Regions from separate parts of the Homo sapiens genome. Here region 1 is linked to region 2. Evidence: promoter capture Hi-C in human tissues and cell types (Jung and others, 2019). All regions are on one chromosome and are shown on one strand. Each heading gives the region's core, a stretch centred on a gene start or on the middle of the fragment in contact. The rest is flanking DNA. Distances are from core to core; before and after follow the strand shown. Region 1 has its middle 41 kb from the start of CCDC182. Region 2 holds the start of OR4D1 (olfactory receptor family 4 subfamily D member 1).

The links. Contacts are between HindIII fragments. The study calls those that stand out against the background at their distance.
Region 1: a contact is called between a fragment that was not itself captured here and the fragment with the promoter of OR4D1 in region 2, in 2 of the 25 tissues and cell types used here (lymphoblastoid cells and mesenchymal stem cells).

What each region holds. Positions count from the first base shown.
Region 1 is chr17:57,784,730-57,788,602 of GRCh38, reverse strand. No RefSeq gene overlaps it. Among named protein-coding and RNA genes, the nearest start is that of CCDC182, 41 kb to the right of the region's middle. The HindIII fragment of the contact is 7,195 bases long and covers 1-3,873 here.
Region 2 is chr17:58,146,031-58,149,961 of GRCh38, reverse strand. It overlaps OR4D1 (olfactory receptor family 4 subfamily D member 1), which reads right to left and starts at 1,578. Exons shown (of 4, transcript NM_001386095.1): 1 at 1,378-1,578; 2 at 166-533. The HindIII fragment of the contact is 15,992 bases long and covers 1-2,996 here.

The sequences.
Region 1 (3,873 bases), core at 382-2,881, 360 kb after region 2:
TAGAGTATGTCCTCGTTCTCCCATTCTCAGCTTGGACCACTGGTGTTCATTCCTGCCTTTTCCTCCTGGGAACAGTTCCCTAATCTGAATGTCCTGTAGCAATTCAGAAACCAATTCTCCCAGCTAGACCCTGTCTGGTTCCTACTAGTCTGTGGTCATGTTGGCCACTCCCTGGTTTGGGGTCCTTCTAATGCTTCTCAAAGCCCTAGTGGAGGTGGAGCGATTAACGCTAAGGGGTTAAGAGCTCAGTCAAATTCTCTGGTCAAGGAATGCACTATTCCTAGCCCCCTTCAATATGCAACAAAGTTGTTGGCAGGTTTTGCCAACTTTAACTCCACCCAGGAGAAAAAGATCCCCTCATGCACCCCCTGCTTCTTTTGATATTAGGAGAGAAAGAAAAAGAGAGATTAACATATTTACAAGTAGCCAATCATCCCCCATCTTTTGGAAGTCAAGTATTAGAGGAAAACAGACAGACATCTGTGAGCATTTAGAGAGTGGAAAAAGAAACAAGCAGGTTTCAACTGGAGCCAGGCAGGTGGTTGGCAGCACCCACCCAAGGAATGGAGTTTCTGTCCTGATTATATTGTTTCATTCGGCTGTGGATACAGCAGAAGCGGAGTGCTGGGGGTGCCGAGGGAGGCATCTCCATGTTTAATTCAGCTTACTTTGAGAACAAGTTAAAGTCTTGCAGCAAAGAGTTCCTCCACAGCAGAAATTTGGGAATCTAAAAAATAAATCTTGGAAAGATGTTAGACTGTGCATAGACCTAGAGCAGAGGAGCCAAGAACACACGGATAGCTCCTTGAGGTGGGAAAGAAGCACGGTGGTTCAGGATGGGCGGTTGGGAAGAAATGATGACCTTAATGATGATGACCATAGCTAACATTTTTTTGAGTGCTTATTATGTCTCAGATACTATCCAAAACACTTTACACAGATTAACTGTTTATTCATCACTGCGAACTTACTTGGAAATGACTATTATTGCTTCCATTTATGAATGAGGAAACTGAGTCACAGAGAGGGTGTGTGATGAGACTGGTAGGTTGGAGCTGTGACTATACTGGGGACAATTACATGGGCTGGATCCTGAAGGTAAGGAAGAGAAAGGAGAAAGGGGTGGCAAACAATCTTTCTGGGGATGTGGATGTCTAGTTATCTGCACCCGAAAGCTGGGAGTATCCCTGGACTTGCCCCTCTCCCTCTTATCCAGTTACTTCTGTAATTTCCCTGGTCCAGTCCATCCCCAGCACCATCCCCACCACTCACAGCTGCTCTACCAGTGTCTTGCCTGGGCTATTGCAGTGACTTCCCAACTGGTGAGCCGCCTTCAGCCCCCAACCCTAATCCATCTTCTAGATTCTTTCCCCACCCAGTAATCTTGCTCTAGGCTTCCTTGGCACCTTATAAATATCTCTATTTAGTACTTAGCACACTAATGGTAATTGTGAATTTATATCAGTTTATCCAGTCCAAATATTTGTTGAATGAAAGAATGAGGTCATATTCAAGGAGAATAATTAACATTTGAAGGCTGAGGGGTAAACCTTGGACCCAAAGAGAAAGGACTTTGCATTCCCAGGGCCCAAGAGCACCAAGAAGAAGTAAATCAGAACATAGACTTAAAAAGGGTGAACTAGCATGAGAGGCTAGGGATAGAACCAAGTGGATCAAGGGGTTGCTGGAAGATGTCAGTGCTTTGCACCTATTCCCATAGAGATTAATAATACATGACATGATTTTGGTAAGTTAAAAGTACCATGAATATCAGGAGCGGGATCTTCTGCTTGGTGGCAGCTCACGGTACTCCATAATAAACAGAAGTGGGAGCCAGTTGAAACAGCTTTTACTTATTTGGAGATGTCTCACTCACCCAAAGGCATCCCCATCTAGGCAAGATGAACACAGGAAAGTGATATTGCATATGGCTGGGAAGTTGATAGACTCTGGGAGGGTGCAATTTGTGGAAAAGAGTGGATTTCTAAGCCACTGTCCTTCTGTCAATTTTTGAGTATATTCTTGGTCTTTCTTGCAGTGCACACAATTCTACAATTGATCTTTAGGTGAAATAAGTTGGGAGATTTAGATTTAGAAGCATTGACCCTCTTTCTCCCGAAGATGCTACAAGGTCAGGTGCATTTCTGCTTTTATTTAAGAGTGTGATTAAAAACAGCCAGGGCCATCCTGGACCCAGCCGGCATTTCCCTGAATGTTCATTATTTTGAATGTATCACTAGAACAATGAGTGATAGAAGTGATGACATGATATAACAGAGAGAAAATCTGGGGTGAATGATTTCACAAGTTTGTCTCTGTTCCTATGATGGAAAAAAATGAAATCTGATTGTCTAGCCCAGAAGTGGAAGATATCATGTTATCTCACAACCTTTAAAGGTTTTACATAATATTTTTGAGACCGAGAATGCTAAAGCATTATTGCTTATGTTCTAGTTATAGGCCTATCTAATGGGTTATTGGTGAAAGACAAAGCACAGAGTCATGAATATGTCTCTGAAGTCAGTGCTGAAGCTGCCCTTGGATCTTTTGCCTCCTAGCCAGGCAGTGGGGGGTTGTCAGTATGGACTAATTCATTCCTGTAGTCACACTTTTTTTTTTTTTTTTGAGGCAGAGTCTTGCTTTGTCGCCCAGACTGGAGTGCAGTGGCACAATCTCGGCTCACTGCAATCTCTGCCTCCCAGGTTCAAGCGATTATCCTGCCTCAGCCTCCCGAGTAGCTGGGATTACAGGCGCGTACCATCACACTCGGCTAATTTTTGTATTTTTAGTAGAGACTGGGTTTCACTATGTTGCCCAGGCTGGTCTTGAACTCCTGACCTCAGGTGATCCACCCACCAAGGCCTCCCAAAGTGCTGGGATTACAGGCGTGGGCCACTGTGCCTGGCCAGTCAACACATATTTATTGAGCAGCTGCTATGTGCCAGGCACTGTACTAGGAAGTGGGGATACAGCAGTGAACAAAACAAAGTTCCTGTTCTCATGGAGCTTACAATCTAGTTGGGGGAGACAAAAAATAACTATGAAACTTATACTATGTCAAGTGATGATACATGCTATGAAGAAAAAATACACACAGTAAGGGGAAAGGTTGGGGTTTCTATCTTATAGAGAGTGGTCAGGGAAGGCCTTGCTACTACAATGAGCACAGATTGAATGGAGTGAGGGAAGGAGCCCTGTGGTTGTCTGGGGTCGGAGTGTTACAGGAAAAGAGAGCAGTAAGGACAAAGACCTCAGGCGGAATCATGCTCAGCACACTCCACCAATGGCAAGGAGGCCAGTGCGGCTGGAGTGACGTGAGCACGGGGAGGGTAGGAGATAAGGTTGGAGAAGAAGCCAGGGGCAAGACCACATGTGGCCCTGGAGTCCGTGCAAGGACCCTGCATCCTCTTCTCTTAGTGAGAAGAGAAAGCTTTGGAGAGTTTAAGCCAAGGAGTGACACGATTCAGCTGTTGTCATAAAAGACTCTGCTATGTGGAAATGTCCTCAGAGGAACAGGGTGAAAGCTGGGAGCCCAGCCAGGAGATGGCTGTGGCTGGGACTGGGGGTAGCAGTGGAGATTTCAAGAAGTGGGCAGATTCTAGACACATCTTGAAGGTCAAACTGATTGAATTTGCTGATGGATTGGTGGAAGGTGTGAAAGAGAGACACATAAGGATGAGCACGCTGTTTGACCTGAGCAACCAGAACTGTGAAGTTACCCATATTAGGATGGGAAAGATTTCTCAGGAGAAACCAGTGAAGAAAAAAAACGATGGGAAAGGCAGGGAGGAGAGAGGAATCAAGAGCTCTGTTTGGACATGTTAAGTTAGATGTCGATGGGGCACCGAAGTGCAGATGGTGAAGAGGCTGCGG
Region 2 (3,931 bases), core at 329-2,828:
AGTAAGTACCATAAATTATCTCCACTTTACAGATAAGTAAACTGTGGCTTGAATAGGTTAACTAATTTCTCCCAGATCACATGGAGAAGAAGAAGCAGAGCTGGGATTCTGAGCCAGGTCTGATTGACCCAGAATTTGCACTCCTAATGACTATTCTCCTCTTACCTGCTCTCCTCTAAGAAGATTCAGCTTCAGCCAAACTTATCTCTTCTTCGGTCCCTCAGGTCTCAGTGCCTTCATCCAGTCAGTGCCGCATCTGAATTGCTTTTCTGTCCTGTTCACCTGTCTGAATTCTACCCTTCCTTCAAGGTTCAAGAGTAATTAGCTCTTCCATAATGTTGCTATGCCTTGGTATTTTTTCATGAGGATGGCTCTGTTCCTCACATGTGTTGTAATTTCAGTGCAAATCCAATATGTTAAGTATTACACAGTACGTGGTACACACAGACCCTTTCTCATAGTTGGTTCCCAAAAGAATGTGTGATTGCTTAATGGAGGACAGGGTGCTGGGATGGGCCAGACTGCCGTGAGAGCTGGGAAGAAAGAGAGAGTAGCCACTGGATAGAATGCAGTTTATAGGACCTCAAAGAGAATCCAAGAATCCTAATTCCCAGCATCACCAGATTTACAATCCTAGAAGCATCATCTTAGCATGGCCCGATTCTTTCCACAAACCCATCAGAATCTTTGCAAATGCTTCCTCCCCCTACATGCATAGAAAATAGATTTAGAGGGATTCTAGACAAGAAAGAAAATAGACATAGGGAGGGACATGGATCTGTATGGGGAAAGGGGAGGATTCTAGACCTCTTCTGTTGTTACTCAATCTTCTCTCCCATCTGTCTTTGCTCTTAGAAAATCAGCCCACACAGGACTAGGAGAGACGAGGGGAGAAGGAATAAGTGGGTTCCCAAAATGGGGTAGAATCTAGTCTGTTGTCATCCAGGGAGCATTAACAGGTATTGTTAAACACAAGATTTAAGAAAAGAGAGGATAAGATGGAGGGACAGCAATAAAGAAGGGAAGAAAATCTGGAGTGAGTGAGAGAAGCAGGCAGGAGAAGGGGGAAGATGGAGGAAGATGAGACTTAAAAAGGAACAGTAGAGGGTGGAAAGTGTCAGAGCAAGACCTGTTTGTGTTTTCTCCTAGGTGTGGGAAGAAGCTGTAGTATGTATGTGGGAGGCGGGGGAGATAACAGTGTATGTCTATATTCCGCTCTCCCTCCCACCCTCTGTTCTAAATTCCACCCAGCACATAAGCCAATACAGACAAAAGTCTTAATGTTAGATAAAATCAATGTTTCCCAAATCCCGTTCCCCTTGCATTAATGCCTGATGACTTCCCCCATGCCTTCCCTCCACCCCATGCTTGTCTCACGATAGGCTTTGTCGTGCTGATTTGTCCATGGGAAGGACAATGAGGCCATCACCTTCCTCCAGCCCACAGTGGCCAAGAGGACTTAGAGCCTCCCATCTCCCAGGTCACTCTTCTCCTGTAGCTCCATTCTTCTCCTGGCCTCTCTCAGACAAGGAACACATATGGGATTGGCCTTAAGGAAAGGGAAATTCCTTGGGGAGTAAAACTTAGGCTTAATTCATAAGATAAAGCCTGGCTCAGGCTGCTAAGGGCAAATGAGCAATGGGAGTTATTAAAAAGTATGTGAGATGTTGCATCAGATGCACATAATTATTGGGAGACTGTCTTGGGGCCAACATTTCAGAGTTACTGATCAAAGGACCAAGATGAAGAAGGATAAGAACCCTAAAGAGACGTGAATTCCCAGGGAGGTTTACAAGAACCAAATCCCTCAGCACCATGGGCAGTGCAAGGCCTCCACCCTCTCCTATCACCACTGTAGTTGGAAAAGTGAGTTATGTCCTAGGACACAGTCCAGGTCACCCCCTCTATAAACTCCAAAGCCTTTTTCATATGTACAGTCATTAAGGTACCATCTCTTATCCCAATCTCTGATCTGCTCTTCTCTCAGCCAAAGTGAACTCTCAATGTAAATTGGCTAAGTTCATCCTCAAGATATAATTCAACTACCATAAGCTTCACAATTATTAAATGATTTTAACCATTCAGTGGTTTTTAGTATATTCACAAACTTGTGTAACCATCACCACTACCTAATTCCAGAACATTTTCTTCGTTCTGAAAAGAAATCTCATATCCTTTAGCAGTCACTGCCCATTCTGTTCTCTCCTCAGTCTCTGGAAACCACTAATCTACTTTTTGTCTCTGGATTTGCCTGTTCTGGACATTTCCTAAAAATTGAATCATATAACACACATATGATGATATATGGCTTTTGTGTCCTGCTTCTTTCACTTATGTTTTTAAGTTTCATCTGTACTGTAGCATGTACCAGTACTAGTCATGTACCAGTCATTCCTTTTTATGACTGGATAATATTACATCATATGGATATACCACTTTTGTAAATCAGTCAGTCAGCTCTCGGACATTTGAGTTCTTTCCACTTTTTAGCTATTATGAATAAAGCTGCTAGGAATATTCATGTATAGGATTTTGTGTGGATGTATTCTTTCATTTTTCTTTGGTATATAGCTAGATGTGGAATTGCTGGATTTTATAGCAACTGTGCCTAATCTTTTGAGGAATAACCATCTTACTTAGAATAGTGAGAGTGAAGTGGCATCTCATAATTTTCGCATTTGTATTTATAAAGAATATGGTCTGTAGTTCTTTTCTTGTATCTTTGTCTGGCTTTGGTATCAAGATAATGCTGGCCTCATAGAATGTGTTAAAAAGTGTTCCCTTTGCTTCTGTTTTTTTTTTTTTTTTTTACAAGAACTTGCATAGTATTGGTGTTCATACTCCTTTAAATGTTTGGCAGAATTTACCACTAAAGCCATCTGGTACTGGACTTTTCTTGGTTGGGAGGTTTTTTAAACACTGATTCAACATTTACTTGTTATAGGTCTGTTGAGACTTTCTATTTCTTTTGAAATCAGTTTTGGTAATTTGTGTTTCCAGGAATTTTTCCATTTAATCTAAATTAGCCAATTTGTTGGCATATAGTGCTCATAGTACTCTCTTACAATCCTATTAATTTTTGTAAGGTTGGTAGTAATGTTTCTGATTTTATTTATTTGCCTCTTCTCTTTTTTTCTTAGTTTAGCTAAACATTTATAAATTTTGTTTATCTTTTCAAGAACTAACTTTGGTTACATTGATTGTATCTATTGTTTTTCTATTCTCTACTTCATTTATCTCTGCTCTAATCTGTATTGTTTTTTTCCTTCTGTTGGCTTTGGTTTTAGTTTGCTCTTCTTTTTTTAGTTCCTTAAAGTGTAAAGTTAGATAATTGATTTGAGACGTTTTTCCTTTTTTATGTAGGATTTTACAGCTATAAAATTCTAAGTATTGCTTTCACTGCACCCTGCGTATGTTGTGCTTTTGTTTGCATTCACTTCAAAGTATTTTCTGATTTCACTGCTGATTTATTCTTTGGCCCATTTGTTGTTGGAGAGTATGTTGTTTAACCTCCACATATTTGCAAAATTTCAAGTTTTTCCTTTGTTGTAGATTCCTTCATTCCATTGTAGTCAGAGAAGATACTTTGTATAATTTAAATCTTTGAATATTTATTGAAAATTTTTTATGGCCTAACGTATAGTCAATCCTGAAGATTGTTTCATGTGCACTTGAGAATGATGTACATTCTGTTGTCTTTGGGTGTTCTGTAAATCTCTTTTAAGTCTAGTCAGTTTATAATATTTTTCAAGTCCCGTATTTTCTTATTGATCCCGCTCCAGTTTTCTTTTGGCTACTATTTGCACAGAATATCTCTTTCCATCCTTTTATTTTAAACCTATTTTTGTCTTTGGAGCCAAAATAAGTCTCTTGTAAGCAGCATATAATTGGATTGTGTTGTTTTTTAATACAGTCTTTCAATCTCTGTCTT